Linked DNA regions of Homo sapiens: all the other regions are linked to region 1. Evidence: promoter capture Hi-C in 16 types of primary human blood cells and fetal thymus (Javierre and others, 2016). All regions are on one chromosome and are shown on one strand. Each heading gives the region's core, a stretch centred on a gene start or on the middle of the fragment in contact. The rest is flanking DNA. Distances are from core to core; before and after follow the strand shown. Region 1 holds the start of ZNF615 (zinc finger protein 615). Region 2 overlaps ZNF793 (zinc finger protein 793). Region 3 has its middle 4.6 kb from the start of ZNF345. Region 4 holds the start of ZNF571 (zinc finger protein 571). Region 5 overlaps ZNF571-AS1 (ZNF571 antisense RNA 1).

Region 1 (2,742 bases), core at 188-2,687:
GTCTCTACAGAAAATTAAAAAATTAGCCAGGTGTGGTGGTGCCCACCTGTAGTCCCAGCTATTCAGGAGCCCAGGAGTTCCAAGTTACAGTGAGCTGTGATCTCCCCAGGCACTCCAGACTGGGCAACAGAGTGGACCTTGCCTCAAAAAGAGACAAAAAAAAAACAAAAAAAAAGAAAAACTCTCATATACCAAGGGTGAGAAGAGCAAATGGAACACGAACTTGACTCTGAAAAATAGTTTGACAATTTCTCTGTATATTTATATACTGATACCTATATCACACACATAGATTCACACAGGCATTTCCTTTCTCTCATTCTTCTAATATAGGAAGTTTGGTTGGATTTATATTTACAGTTCAGCATTGCCATGACTTTGCACATACTATTCGCGGTTGGCACACGTAGTATAACGTGATCTCCTTCTTAACCTTTCTTTCTTTTGTTTTTTTTTTGAGATGGAGTTTTGCTCCTGTTGCCCAGGCTGGAGTGCAATGACGCCATCTTGGCCCACAGCAACCTCCGCCTCCCGGGTTCAAGCGATTCTCCTGCCTCAGCCTCCCGAGTAGCTGGGATTACAGGCATGCGCCACCATGCCTGGCTAATTTTGTATTTTTAGTAGAGACAGGGTTTCTCCATGTTGGTCAGGCTGGTCTCGAACTCCCGCTCTCAGGTGATCCGCCCACCTCGGCCTCCCAAAGTGCTGGGATTACAGGCGTGAGCCACCGCGCCCGGCCTCTTTCCCAACCTTTTTTTTCTCACTGAAGTGGTCCTGTTCCCTTAATTTCTGGCCACTTCTCCTGAGTCCAGCCCTCATATTTGGCTCCACCTGGGTCCCAGGCTCTCCCCTCCGCCTTGGGAACTATACTTTCTGGCTTTTACTGGCTTTTCCCCATGCCTTTCACCCAACATAATTTTGGCACGTTCCAACCGTTTTCATTACCTAGTCTGTGACTGCTACCCCTGTTCCGTCAGCGTAGCTAACAGCCCTCTTCTGCGTTCAAAAGGCGCTTCAAGCTACTTTGTTAGAAATCTGGCTTTGGCCGAAGTGTCCCCTCTCGGCCGGTTCTCCTTTTCCCTCACAAGGAACTGTTTCCTAACCTTTGTACAAAGTGTAAACGTCGCGGCCATCTTAGCCTTCTATTCAGCTGCTGAAAGGGATTTACCTCCACGCCATTTTTGTCTTGTGTAAACTGGAGCCTCTGTATATGGACCCGTATTTATGAAGGGTTGAGGTGCCAGGAAATGGGACAGTTTCAGTGCTCTTTCATCTTCCCGGCCATCCCCGGTCACCCCCGGTCACCCCCGGTCACCAGCGCCAAAACGCGCCCTTTGCCTTGTGTACGTCAGATACTCAAAGATGGCGGCCCCCATGGAGCCAAGGCGACGAGGGCGCGGCCATCTTGCATCTGCGCAAACGCTGGGAACGCCTCCGACCCTGGATAGTCGCCGTCAGGCACTGAGGAGGCCGAGAGATGAGGCCGGAGCCCACCAAGTTCTGGGAAGTAAGTTCAGTCACTGGGTGGTCGCTGTGGTGACGGGGGAGGAAATTCTGTCCGTGGCTGGGCGTGTTCGTGGACAGTGGTGATGGACTGGTATCTGTCGGCGCCAGCGTTTGGCGACGCCAGTGGAATTCTTTCAGGAGCTTAGCGTGGGTCCGATTCCTATCGCAGGGGAACTACAAGAGGTCCGTGATAGGGTGTGTGTGTGTGTGATCGGGGTACCTCTGGGACCAGTCACAGGGTCCTCGTGTAGTTTGTGGTTAAAGATCTCTAGAGATCCGCTACTGAGTGCCCAAGTCACATTCTGGTGTCTTTGGTGTTGTCCTTTGGCGGGGCTCAGTGATTGCGAACTGGAGGGTTTGTTTTGTCAGCGAATCGGTTTATGGTTCAGGTTTTGTTTGGGACTAAATGATTGAGGAACTGTCTTGGGGGTTAAGGTACGGAGGTTTCTGATCCAGGTTTTGGAATTAATCCCGGTGGCGGTGGTGGTAGCGCCACAGATTCCGATGTGGGCTGCAGCTCTGGAGGCCTGGGAACCATGGCAGGTGATGGGTTAGCCCCAGCCCTGGCTGCTGGAACAGAATTGATGCTCATTAGCATTCCCCTTCTGCCCAAGACCCTTCTCCACGACTGGTTTTTAAATCCCCTTTGGCACCTTCCATCACCCCTTGGTCTTGAATCCTCAGAAATGGAAGTTTTTGGCGAGATCAGTCATCTAGCATACCTAAAAGTAGTATGTTTTATATTTAAGATGCGGCTTCTACCCTTTGTCCTGCAAGTTTCCAGCGTATCCTCTTGGATATTTCTTTTCAGGTTCTTTCTGACACAAGTAAGATAACATCTCTGCCATGGTAAGCTCGGTTACTCAAAGATAACCTTTGTCAAATTTTCAGAATATTTCAATTTTAGACGTGTATGTTATGTGCTTAATATTCATAATTCAGATAAATTATGTAAATGGTACTATTATCTTTTTCGCTTTATATTATGTAATAAACATTTAGAAGTTGTTTTTACTGTTTGAGCCGGTGGTACTATAAGTGCATTCACATTAAGTTTATGCGTACATTTGGATAGAAGTGAAATGTTTTAAAATGTTTAGGTATTATTTTTAGGAACATTTTATGATTATCCATTTATCCATGAATTTTGTTTTTCCTGCCTTTAATCTTCAATCTAGACTATTACTTTTATTGCAGTGTATTGCTTTCTGACTCCCCTTTCCTTATAATCTATAA
Region 2 (2,700 bases), core at 18-2,517, about 14 Mb after region 1:
CAATATATCATAGAGTATAGAGACCAATAATTTCAAAGAAAATAGGATATTACAGAGCAGAGGTTGGCAAACTTATTCTTAAGGAGTCAGAAAGTAAAGGCTTTGTGGGCCATATGGTCTCCGTCACAATGACTCAACTCTCCCGCCATACCATGAAAATATAGACAACATGTAAACGTAAGAATGTGGTTGTGTTCTAATAAAACTTTATTCACAAAGCAGGTGGCCAATCGGTAGGCCACAGTTTGCTGATCCCTGTTACAGAAGAAAGAAGGTTAAATGTTATACAGTACCTTGCTATCCAGCATGTGGGTCTTCAAGTGGCAATTTTGGCCTTACTTGGAGCTTGTTAGATGTGCAGAATCTAAGGCACCGCCCCAGACCTACTTAATCAGACTCTGCATTTCAACAAGATGCCCCGGTGATTCCAAACACCTTGGAGCTTAACAAGCACTGGTATAGCAGTCATCCAAGGGAATATCATGTTGGGCTAGTTAGTTACAATATAAACGGTAAAGCACTCTAAGGTGAAACAGATTAAAAAATAAAATCAACAAAGCTAACTAGGACTTAAGCAAGAGTTCTTAACTTGGCAGAAAACAGGGGGCTTGTGAACTTTGATAGAAAAGAAATTACATTTTTGTTTTCACTGAGTTCCAACTACAATTGAACATTTCCTTTGAATATGAATATAAGCAACAAAACACAGTGGTATTAGTGGTTCCTGTGACTTGATACTAGTTTGTGAATATTGTTATTTTCATGTCACATTATTATGTTTATAATCATCTCTTCTTTGAGATCATGACAGTTATTAGACCTGATGCTAGGCCTCATTAACGTATAAATGAAAAAGTACATCTACTATTATATTGCACATTTTGAAAATATTTTGAAGCTGGGCGCGGTGGCTCACGCCTGTAATCCCAGCATTTTGGGAGGCCGAGGCAGGTGGATCATCTGACGTCAGGAGTTCAAGACTAGCCTGACCAACATGATGAAACCCAGTCTCTACTAAAAATAGAAAATAAGCTGGGCGTGGTGGCACACACCTGTAGTCCCAGCTACTCGGGAGGCTGAGGCAGGAGAATCGCTTGAACCCAGGAGGAGGAGGCTGCAGTGAGCTGAGATCATGCCATTGCACTCCGGCCTGGGCGACAGAGTGAAACTCCATCTAAAAAAAAAAAAATTTTTTTTTGATAACTATTTTCTAGCTTATTTTGATAATTACTGTACTTTAGTCATTTATTTTATAATCTTATGAACGTTATTATATTTTTATACATAGAAGTGAGGTCTATAGCCTTCAAAAGAATGCCTAAGAAGTCCATGGCACAAAAATAATTAATAACCCCTCACTTAAAGACATTCAGTCATGAGATAATCTGGGTCTCATTTTAGGAGATATCAGTGGAAAATTAAAAGTGGGGCTGGGTGCAGTGGCTCACGCCAGTAATCCCAGCACTTTGGGAGGCTAAGGCGGGTGGATCACGAGGTCAGGAGATCAAGACCAGCCTGGCCAAGATGGTGAAACCCCATCTCTACTAAAAATACAAAAATTAGCTGGGGGTGGTGGCACGTGCCTGTAATCCCAGCTACTCCGGAGGCTGAGGCAGAGAATTGCTTAAACCCAGGAGGCGGAGGTTGCAGTGAGCTGAGATGGCACCACTGCATTCCAGCCTGGGTGACAGAACAAGACTTCATCTGAACAATAACAACAAAAAAAAGTGGAGAAGGACTGGGCATGGTGGCTCATGCCAGTAAATCCAGCACTTTGGGAAGCCAAAGCAGGTGGACTGCTTGAGCCCAGGAGTTTGAGACCAGCCTGAGCGGCACTGCAAAACCCCTTCTCTACAAAAAAAATGAAAATTAGCCAGGTGTGGTAGCACGTGAATATAATCCCAGTTACTCGGGAGGTTAAGAGGTGGGAGGATCGCTTGAGCCCAGGAGGTCAAGGCTGCAGTGAGCCATGATCATGCCACTGCACTCCAGCCTGGGTGACAGAGTGAGACACTGTCTCAAAAAGAAAAAAAAAAAGCAGAGAGGAAGATTTAAAGCCATTTCTCAGAAGAAAAAAAATCAACAAAACCACACATATGAATGGAACAGTTAGAGTGAGTGGTAAAGGCAGAAGATTCAAAATGACCACACGGTAGCAAAGCCCTGGAATAATAAGCAAGATGAAGTGGTGTGTGTGTGTGCGTGTGTGTGTGTGTGTGTGAGTGTGAGTGTGTGTGTGGCAGGGGTAGCAAGGACAAATAAAGATGATTTTAGTTTTTGACACACAAAGAACAGGGTAAGTGCACACCTGTAGTGTAATCCACAGACTGGTTAAATGCGGGGGTGGGCAGTGCAAGGGGGAAAAAAGGGCCCAACATGGCAAAAGGGCTGGTTGTGAGAATCATGTACTCTCAGAATGGGTGAGTTCTTTGAGAGGATTACACCACTGGAAAGAGAACCAAGTTATGGAAAACAGAAAATGCAATTGTTCCTTGGAAGGAAAATGCTGGGTTTGAGCCAGGGAAATAGATAGTAACAGAGTAGCTGGAAAAACGGGAGGCTGACTAGATACATTCTTGTGGAATTTGCAGTTACGAAATTTTCAGAAGAGGAGAAGAAAAGAAGAGGAGGGCAACTGATAACCGGGATACCACAGTCTCAGGACAGCTGAAGAGCACAGTTTAATGGAGGAACACACTC
Region 3 (2,702 bases), core at 78-2,577, about 15 Mb after region 1:
CACCAATCCCGGCTAATTTTTGTATTTTTAGTAGAGACGGGGTTTCACCATGTTGTCCAGGCTTGTCTCGAACTCCTGACCTCAGGTGATCCACCCGCCTCGGCCTCCCAAAGTGCTGGGATTACAGGCGTGAAGGGCTCCACTTCTTAATCTAACACATTGGCGATTAAGTTTCACTATATAAATTTTGGGGAACACATTCAGAACATAACCAAGGACAAAAGAACAAGTGTTTTTGTTTTGTTTTTTGTTTTGTTTTTTTTCCCAAGACAAAGTCTTACTGTATTGCCCAGGCTGGAGTGCAGTGGCGCAATCTCGGCTCACTGCAACCACTGCCTCCCGGGTTCAAGCAATTCTGCCTCAGCCTCCCGAGTAGCTGGGATTACAGATGTGCGCCACCACACCCGGCTAATTTTTGTATTTTTAGTAAAGACAGGGTTTCACCATGTTGGCCAGGCTGGTCTTGAACTCCTAACCTCATGATCTGCCTGCCTTGGCCTCTCAAAGTGCTGGGATTACAGGTGTGAGCCACCGCACTTGGCTAAGAACAAGTGTTTTAACAGAAAATACTCTGTTTAGGAAACTACAAGGGTTTTAGGACCCATGAACCAAGAACCATGGGCATGGATAAAGACCAAAATACATATTTCTTATTACATCACAATATCAGAGAGGTATAGACTCAGGATTGGTTGGTTTGCATATGTAAGCTGTGCTCATTGGAAAACTGTGATTATCTTTAGGAATTAGCCCTGAGAGGAGCAGCCTCTCCCTGTTTTTGGTAAGGTCCCCAAATGCCAGAGCATCAAGAATACAGAAAATAAGAAAATATAGTTAATATAATTGGCCTCTTGATGAACGAGTGCCAAATAGACTAATAGAGAATCTAAGGAAATGCAGTTAGAACACAGAGGCTATGTAAGTATTTACCTTCCACAAATGGTGAACTAATTTTTATTCCAACCAGAAATGTATGAAAGTTCCTATTTCCTGTTCCTGTCAACCATTGTATTTCTTCATTCAGCAGATATTCATTGAGCTCTTTTTTTTTTTGAGACGGAGTCTCGCTCTGTCGCCCAGGCTGGAGTGCAGTGGCACTGTCTCGGCTCACTGCAACCTCCGCTTCCCGGGTTCAAGAATTCTTCTGCCTCAGCCTCCCGAGTAGCTGGGACTGCAGGCGCCTGCCACCATGCCCGGCTAATTTTTGTATTTTTAGTAGAGACAGGGTTTCACTGTGTTAGCCAGGATGGTCTCGATCTCCTGACCTCGTGATCTTGTGATCTGCCCGCATCGTCCTCCCAAAGTGCTGGGACTACAGGCGTGAGCCACTGCGCCTGGCCTCATTGAGCTCCTTATCTGTGCCAGGTGCTATTCTAGGCACTAGGAAAATATCAGTGAACAGAACAGCCAAGATTTCCTGTCCTCACAGAGTATACCATTCTAGTTGGGGAAGTGGACAATGAATGTGTAAATGAAATATATCATATTCCAGATAAAGATAAGATTGGGGCCAGGTGTGGTGGCTCATGCCTGTAATCCAAGCACTTTGGGAGGCCAAGATGGGCGTATCACCTGAGGTCAGGAGTTCGAGATCATCCTGGCCAACATGGTGAAACGCCGTCTCTGATAAAAATACAAAAATTAGCCAAGTGTGGTGGTGCATTCCTGTAATCCCAGCTACTGGGTAGGCTGAGGCAGGAGAATCGCTTGAACCCGGGAGGCAGAGGTTGCAGTGAGCCGAGATCATGCCATTGCACTCCAGCCTGGGCAACAAGAGTGAAACTCCGTCTCCCACCACCCCCCTCAAAAAAAAAAAAAGAATCTAGGTTCTTTATAAATCTTTGTGCTGTCATATTGCACTGTCATTTTCTGCAAAGCCAAAGGTGGATCCATTTTTTCTGTCAATTTGTTGTACATGTTTTTAAAAATCTTTTAGTGATTACCTGAAAGATTACAGCATTCCTCTTTCTTTTAGTCTAGGACAAATTATTGACTTTACCATTTCCCCAATACTGCTAGAGGACCTTGGGACACTTTAACTCCATTTACCTCCATCCTCATTTTTGCTTTATTTTTGTTATTTAATTCTGCATACATTCAAAACCCCAGAGGGCAGTATATTACTTTGTGCAGTCAATATTCATTTATATTCACATACTTACTCTTTCTATTGCTATTCTTTCCCTACTAATTTTTTTTTTTTTTGGAAACAGGGACTCTGTCACCCAGGTTGAGTGCAGTGGCATGATCATGGCTCACTGCAGCCTCGACCTCCCAGGCTCAAGTGATCCTCCTACCTCAGCCTCCTGAGTAGCTGGAACCGCAGGTGTGCGCCACCACGCCCAGCTAATTTTTGATTTTTTGTAGAGGCAAAGTCTTGCTATATTGCTCAGGCTGGTCTTGAACTCCTAGATGCAAATGAACCTCCACCTTGGCCTCCCAGATTGCTGGGATTACTAGTATTAGCCACTGTGCCTGGCCTAAATTTCTTTCTGTTTCATCTGAGATCTTGTTCTTCTCGAAAAACTCCATTTAGTATTTCTTTTTTTTTTTTTTTTTTTTTTTTTTTGAGACGGAGTCTCGCTCTGTCGCCCAGGCTGGAGTGCAGTGGCGGGATCTCAGCTCACTGCAAGCTCCGCCTCCCGGGTTCACGCCATTCTCCTGCCTCAGCCTCCCAAGTAGCTGGGACTACAGGCGCCCGC
Region 4 (2,700 bases), core at 34-2,533, about 14 Mb after region 1:
AGACTAAGTTGAAGATAACACACAATGTCTCTATTATTTCTTACAACCTCATATGAATCTACAATCATCTCAAATTTAAAAAAAAATTTAAGGAAGTTTTAAGAATTTCATTTTCAAATATTTGCTAGATGAATTAAGTTTTTACCCCCTTCAAATCTTGAAGGCAAATTAATGCTCCAGGTTGTACTGTTCAATAGGAAGACTATTAGCCATATATAGCTGTTTACATTTAGATTTATTAAAATTGAACACAATTTAAAAAATTCGTTCCTCAGTCAAACCAGCCACATTTCAATTTCTCAATAGCCATATGTAGCTAGTGGCTACTATATTGGAGAGCACAGATATAAAAAATGGAACTCAGTTTTGCAGAAATTCCTATTAAAAAGCATTGTTCCAAAGCGTTACACGACTGACACCCTCACTTTACAGGTGAGAAAACTGAAGCCAGGAGATATCACTATAATACAGCGCTGCACACAATCGTGCTCATTCTCACCATATTATGCTCACACACTTCTTTCCCCACATTCACTGCCACAGGCGAACTCTCAATGAATCATTCACTACATTTATATAATTTCATGGGAATCTATTTTAAATTCATGACCATGCAAAGAAAAATCAATTTCTTACAGGTTATAAGATACTCAGTCGCAGGCTGAATCTGATTAAACAGACATCAGTCACCCTCAAAGCTATAATCAAACCATTCCCAAGACCCTTCCGCACACAATACTAAATGCGCCACTAATAGCCTCAAGCATAATCTGACGCACATCACACAGGCATGGCCACTACCCACTCTGCACCCACAGAGGACACTCGGACACGCGCGCGCACAGACCCACACACACACGCACACACACACACATGGCCGCAAAGAATGCGTCACACTTCCGAACCCCGTTGAGCAGCAACCCGGTATCGTGGCCACTGCGTCACGGCCAGAGCTGTCAGAGAGAAATCCAGACCTTACCTGACAGCCTTTTGCAGCTCTTCTAGCCCGGGATGACATTCCCCTGAAGGCACCACGGCAAGACTCAACCTCTTTGTGTGAGATTCTCTGGAATTTCTGGGGCGTTACTTGAGTATAATGAAATAGGGTAGGCTCGGACCATAGTAGGGTAAGTCCCACAGTTCGAGCAAGGGAGCCTCAGGGATCGTTCTGTTCTGGAGCGCCGGACCCGATCTTAGCTGCTGGGCCTGCGCAGACACGATCCGGCCGGTTTCCAGTTGTAGACTACATTTCCCGAAGGCCCCCGCGTCGCTGCGCAACGTCGTACACTTACGCTGTTATGTCTTGACGCACGGAGCTTGTCTGCGCCGGCCAGGTGAGTGGGCGGCCTCACCGGGAACCGCTCGCAGCTTTTGGGTTGCTTCATCGAAAAAGTAGTTCTTGTATGGTGCTGGGAATACCGGTGTCCTGGCTGGGGCTCGGTGCTGACAGGAACGGGACGGTGCTCTGGCTAATTACTTATGGAAGTCGGCCTTGCGCTTGCGGAGGGGTGTCGGCACCGTCACTTTGGTTCTGGCAGTGGCGGGGGTGTGGTGCTGCTAGTTGTGTTCCTCCGCACCGAATTTATGAGTGTGCCCCTGGAGCCCCTGCCGCGGACAAAATCGGCACCATAACTTTGGGATAGGGAGGCTAGAAGGAGGCGGGTGTTACTAGTAGTGTTCCTCCGCCCTGGACGTGTGCGTGTGCGCTTGTGCGGCCGCGGGGTGGGCTCACCTGCCGCCTGTTAATGCTCCTAGCGCTTGGCCCCTCCCGGGCCGCAGTACTCCTCGTGTGACACGGACATCATTAAGCCAGCTGAGAATCGTGCGGTTACAGCTGCTGCAGTTTCTTTGCAGAGTAAGAGGCTCTTTTTGAAGTTTCCCTGATGGTGAGGCTTTACCCCTGGAAGTGTCTTAGGAAGAAGACCACTGTTAAAGATGTCCTATTCTAGCTTGACAGCCCTGTGGGGAAGACTAATCCCTTTCTAGAGGTTGGTGTTATCCTAAATTGTTTCGTCTGCTCCGAGAGCTCTGATGTTCTATGATGCTTATTTCTTTTCTCGGTTCTGCGTTTTCCAAGAGAGGCACCCAGAGGAAAAGAATATCGCACTTCTGAAAGTCTTGTGTGAAGTTCCTGTTTTCTTTCTAACCTCAAATTTCTTCCTTTCCGAAACGTTTTCTACCTCCAGCAACATCTTCCTAAGGAAGAACCAGCCATGCTAGTGACTGGTCCTTAGGCACCCCATAAATGATGCTGCGGGGATGGGATCATCAGTTTAGCTCTACTCCCCAGCCACACTACACCTCTCCTTTCCACCCAATGATACAGCAGTCCTTTCTGGTCTAAGATTTTTTTGTTTGTTTGTTTGCTTTTTGAGACGGATTCTCGCTGTGTCGCCCTGGCTGGAGTGCGGTGGTGCGGTCTCGGCTCACTGCAAGCTCCGCCTTCCGGGTTCACGCCATTCTCCTGCCTAAGCCTCCCGAGTAGCTGGGACTACAGGCGCCCGCCACCATGCCCGGCTAATTTTTTGTGTTTTTAGTAGAGACGAGGTTTCACCGTGTTAGCCAGGATGGTCTCGATCTCCTGACCTCGTGATCCACCCGCCTGGGCCTCCCAGAGTGCTGGGATTACAGGCGTGAGCCACCGCGCCTGGCCTGGTCTAAGGTTTTGATGAAAAATAACTGTACTTTCTGGGGGAAATT
Region 5 (2,817 bases), core at 177-2,676, about 14 Mb after region 1:
TCTGGATGGCCAAGTTGTCTGCGAGCCAAGCAGTAGCCGCTACAGCAAGCCTAGTCCAAGAGGCTGATAAGTTAACTCTGGGCCAAAATTTAACCCTTAAGGCTCCTCATGCCATAGAGACTTTACTTCAAAGTGCTTCTGGCGAATGGATGTCAAATGCTCGCATCTTGCAATATCAGAGTTTACTGTTAGATCAGTAAACTGACTTTCTCTTCCACACGGTGTTTAAATCCAGCTACTATCCATGACTGTCAGGAACTGTTGGAAACTACCGAAACTGGCCCATCCGATCTTCAAGATGTGCCCCTAGAGAAGGCGGACGCCACCGTGTTCACAGACGGTAGCAGCTTTCTCGAGCAGGGAGTACGAAAGGCCGGTGCAGCTGTTACCACGGAGACAGATGTGTTGTGGGCTCAGGCTTTACCAGCAAACACCTCAGCGCAAAAAGCTGAATTGATCGCCCTCACTCAGGCTCTCCGATGGGGTAAGGATATTAACGTTAACACTGACAGCAGGTACGCCTTTGCTACGGTGCATGTACATGGAGCCATCTGCCAGGAGCGCAGGCTACTCACCTCAGCAGAAAAGGCTATCAAAAACAAGAATCCCCCGTCTTCAAAGCCTAACAGATCAAGCAGCTCTCTGGGGAACAACCTGCGACCAGGTAAATGCCAAACAAGGTCCTAAACCCAGCCCAGGCCACCGTCTCCGAAGAAACTTGCCAGGAGAGAAGTGGGAAATTGACTTTACAAAAGTAAAACCACACCAGGCTGGGTACAAATACCTTCTAGTACTAGTAGACACCTTCTCTGGATGGACTGAGGCATTTGCTACCAAAAACGAAACCGCCAACTTGGTAGTTAAGTTTTTACTCAATGAAATCATCCCTCGATATGGGCTGCCTGCTGCCATAGGGTCTGATAATGGACCGGCCTTCACCTCGTCTATAGTTCTGTCGGTCAGTAAGGCGTTAAACATTCAATAGAAGCTCCATTGTGCCTATCGAGCCCAGAGCTCTGGGCAGGTAGAACGCATGAACCACACCCTAAAAAACACTCTTACAAAATTAATCTTAGAAACTTGTGTAAATTGGGTAAGTCTCCTTCCTTTAGCCCTACTTAGAGTAAGGTGCACCCCTTACTAGGCTAGGTTCTCACCTTTTGAAATCATGTATGGGAGGGCGCCGCCTATCTTGCCTAAGCTAAGAGATGCCCAATTGGCAGAAATATCACAAAAGAATTTATTACAGTACCTACAGTCTCCCCAACAGGTACAAGATATCATCCTGCCACTTGTTCAAGGAACCCATCCGAATCCAATTCCTGACCAGACAGGGTCCTGCCATTCGTTCCAGCCAGGAGACCTAGTGTTTGTTAAAAAGTTCCAGAAAGAAGCACTCACTCCTGCTTAGAAAAGACCTCACACCATCATCCTCACAACGCCAATGGCTCTGAAGGTGGACGGCATTCCTGCTTAGATTCATCACTCCCGCATCAAAAAGGCCAACAGAGCCCAACTAGAAACATGGGTCCCCAGGCCTGGGTCAGGCCCCTTTAAAACTGCACCTAAGTCAGGTGAAGCCATTAGATTAATTCTTTTTATCTACCTCACTTGTTTGTTTTTGCCTGTTATGTCCTTTGCGCCTTCCTACTCCTTTCTCCTCACCTCTTTCACAACAGGATGTGTATTTGCAAACACCACTTGGAGGGCCAGTACCTCCAAGGAAGTCTCCTTTGCAGTTGATTTATGTGTACTGTTCCCAGAGCCAGCCCGTACCCGCGAAGAGCAACACAATCTGCCGGTCCCAAAAGCAGGAAGTGTCAACCTTGCAGCAGGATTTGGACACTCCAGGAGCCAAACTGGATGTGGAAGCTCCAAAGGTGCAGAAAAAGGACTCCAAAATGTTGACTTTTACCTCTGTCCTGGGAATCACCCTGACACTAGCTGTCGAGATACTTACCAGTTTTTCTGCCCTGATTGGACATGTGTAACTTTAGCCACCTACTCTGGGGGATCAACCAGATCTTCATTCCATAACTCGTGCTTCTCGTCCTAAATTATGTACTAGAAAAAATTGTAATCCTCTTACTATAACTGTCCATGACCCTAATTCAACTCAGTAGTATTATGGCATGTCATGGGAATTAAGATTTTATATCCCAGGATTTGATGTTGGGACTATGTTCACCATCCAAAAAATCCTGGTCTCATGGAGCCCACCCAAGCCAATCGGGCCTTTAACTGATCTAGGTGACCCTATGTTCCAGAAACCCCCTAACAAAGTTGATTTAACTGTTCCTCCACCATTCTTAGTCATAAAAGATACACTCCAAAAGTTCGAGAAAATCTAGATAGGCGCCAACAGGAACGAGAAAACAACATCCCCTGGTATCAAAGCATGTTCAACTGGAACCCCTGGCTAACTACTTTAATCACTGGGTTAGCTGGACCTCTCCTCATCATACTATTAAGTTTAATTTTTGGGCCTTGTATATAAAATTGGTTTCTTAATTTTGTAAAAGAATGCATAGCTTCTGTCAAACTTATGTATCTTAATACTCAATATAACCCCCTTGTTATAATTGAGGAATCAACGATTTGATTCCCCAAAAACACAAGTGGGGAATGTAATGCCCAACCTTGTTTTTACTAACCCTGTTTTTAGACTCTCCCTTTTCCTTTAATTACCCAGCCTTGTTTCCACCTGAATTGACTCTCCCTTAGCTAAGAGAGCCAGACAGACTCCATCTTGGCTCTTTCACTGGCAGCCGCTTCCTCAAGGACTTAACTTGTGCAAGCTGACTCCCAGCACATCCA

Evidence for each region. Contacts are between HindIII fragments. The CHiCAGO score rates a contact against its expected background, and 5 or more counts as called.
Region 2: a contact is called between a fragment that was not itself captured here and the fragment with the promoter of ZNF615 in region 1, in 1 of 17 cell types (non-activated CD4 T cells). The highest score is 5.2, in non-activated CD4 T cells.
Region 3: a contact is called between a fragment that was not itself captured here and the fragment with the promoter of ZNF615 in region 1, in 2 of 17 cell types (naive CD4 T cells and non-activated CD4 T cells). The highest score is 7.5, in naive CD4 T cells.
Region 4: the fragment with the promoter of ZNF571 here is called in contact with the fragment with the promoter of ZNF615 in region 1 in 1 of 17 cell types (total CD4 T cells); the score reaches 5.6 in total CD4 T cells.
Region 5: a fragment that was not itself captured here is called in contact with the fragment with the promoter of ZNF615 in region 1 in 1 of 17 cell types (non-activated CD4 T cells); the score reaches 5.2 in non-activated CD4 T cells.

What each region holds. Positions count from the first base shown.
Region 1 is chr19:52,006,906-52,009,647 of GRCh38, reverse strand. It overlaps ZNF615 (zinc finger protein 615), which reads left to right and starts at 1,437. Exons shown (of 7, transcript NM_001199324.2): 1 at 1,437-1,507; 2 at 2,318-2,355. It overlaps LOC124904755 (a long non-coding RNA gene), which reads right to left and starts at 1,350. Exons shown (of 2, transcript XR_007067321.1): 1 at 1,169-1,350. RefSeq lists enhancers at 927-1,006, 1,067-1,676. The HindIII fragment of the contact is 6,775 bases long and covers 1-2,742 here.
Region 2 is chr19:37,534,020-37,536,719 of GRCh38, reverse strand. The region is part of intron 7 of ZNF793 (zinc finger protein 793); the gene reads right to left. It overlaps LOC124904708, which reads left to right. Exons shown (of 2, transcript XR_007067248.1): 2 at 2,592-2,700. Among named protein-coding and RNA genes, the nearest start is that of ZNF571-AS1, 14 kb to the left of the region's middle. The HindIII fragment of the contact is 3,580 bases long and covers 1-2,700 here.
Region 3 is chr19:36,844,915-36,847,616 of GRCh38, reverse strand. It overlaps a transcript of ZNF790 not described here. Among named protein-coding and RNA genes, the nearest start is that of ZNF345, 4.6 kb to the left of the region's middle. The HindIII fragment of the contact is 5,910 bases long and covers 1-2,702 here.
Region 4 is chr19:37,593,375-37,596,074 of GRCh38, reverse strand. It overlaps ZNF571 (zinc finger protein 571), which reads left to right and starts at 1,283. Exons shown (of 4, transcript NM_016536.5): 1 at 1,283-1,334. It overlaps ZNF540 (zinc finger protein 540), which reads right to left and starts at 1,199. Exons shown (of 5, transcript NM_001172225.3): 1 at 980-1,199. RefSeq lists enhancers at 722-771, 1,002-1,121, 1,162-1,361, 958-1,640, 1,592-1,641 and 2 more. The HindIII fragment of the contact is 14,201 bases long and covers 1-2,700 here.
Region 5 is chr19:37,555,108-37,557,924 of GRCh38, reverse strand. All of the region lies in intron 2 of ZNF571-AS1 (ZNF571 antisense RNA 1), which reads right to left. It also overlaps a transcript of ZNF540 not described here. Among named protein-coding and RNA genes, the nearest start is that of ZNF571-AS1, 7.6 kb to the right of the region's middle. The HindIII fragment of the contact is 8,397 bases long and covers 1-2,817 here.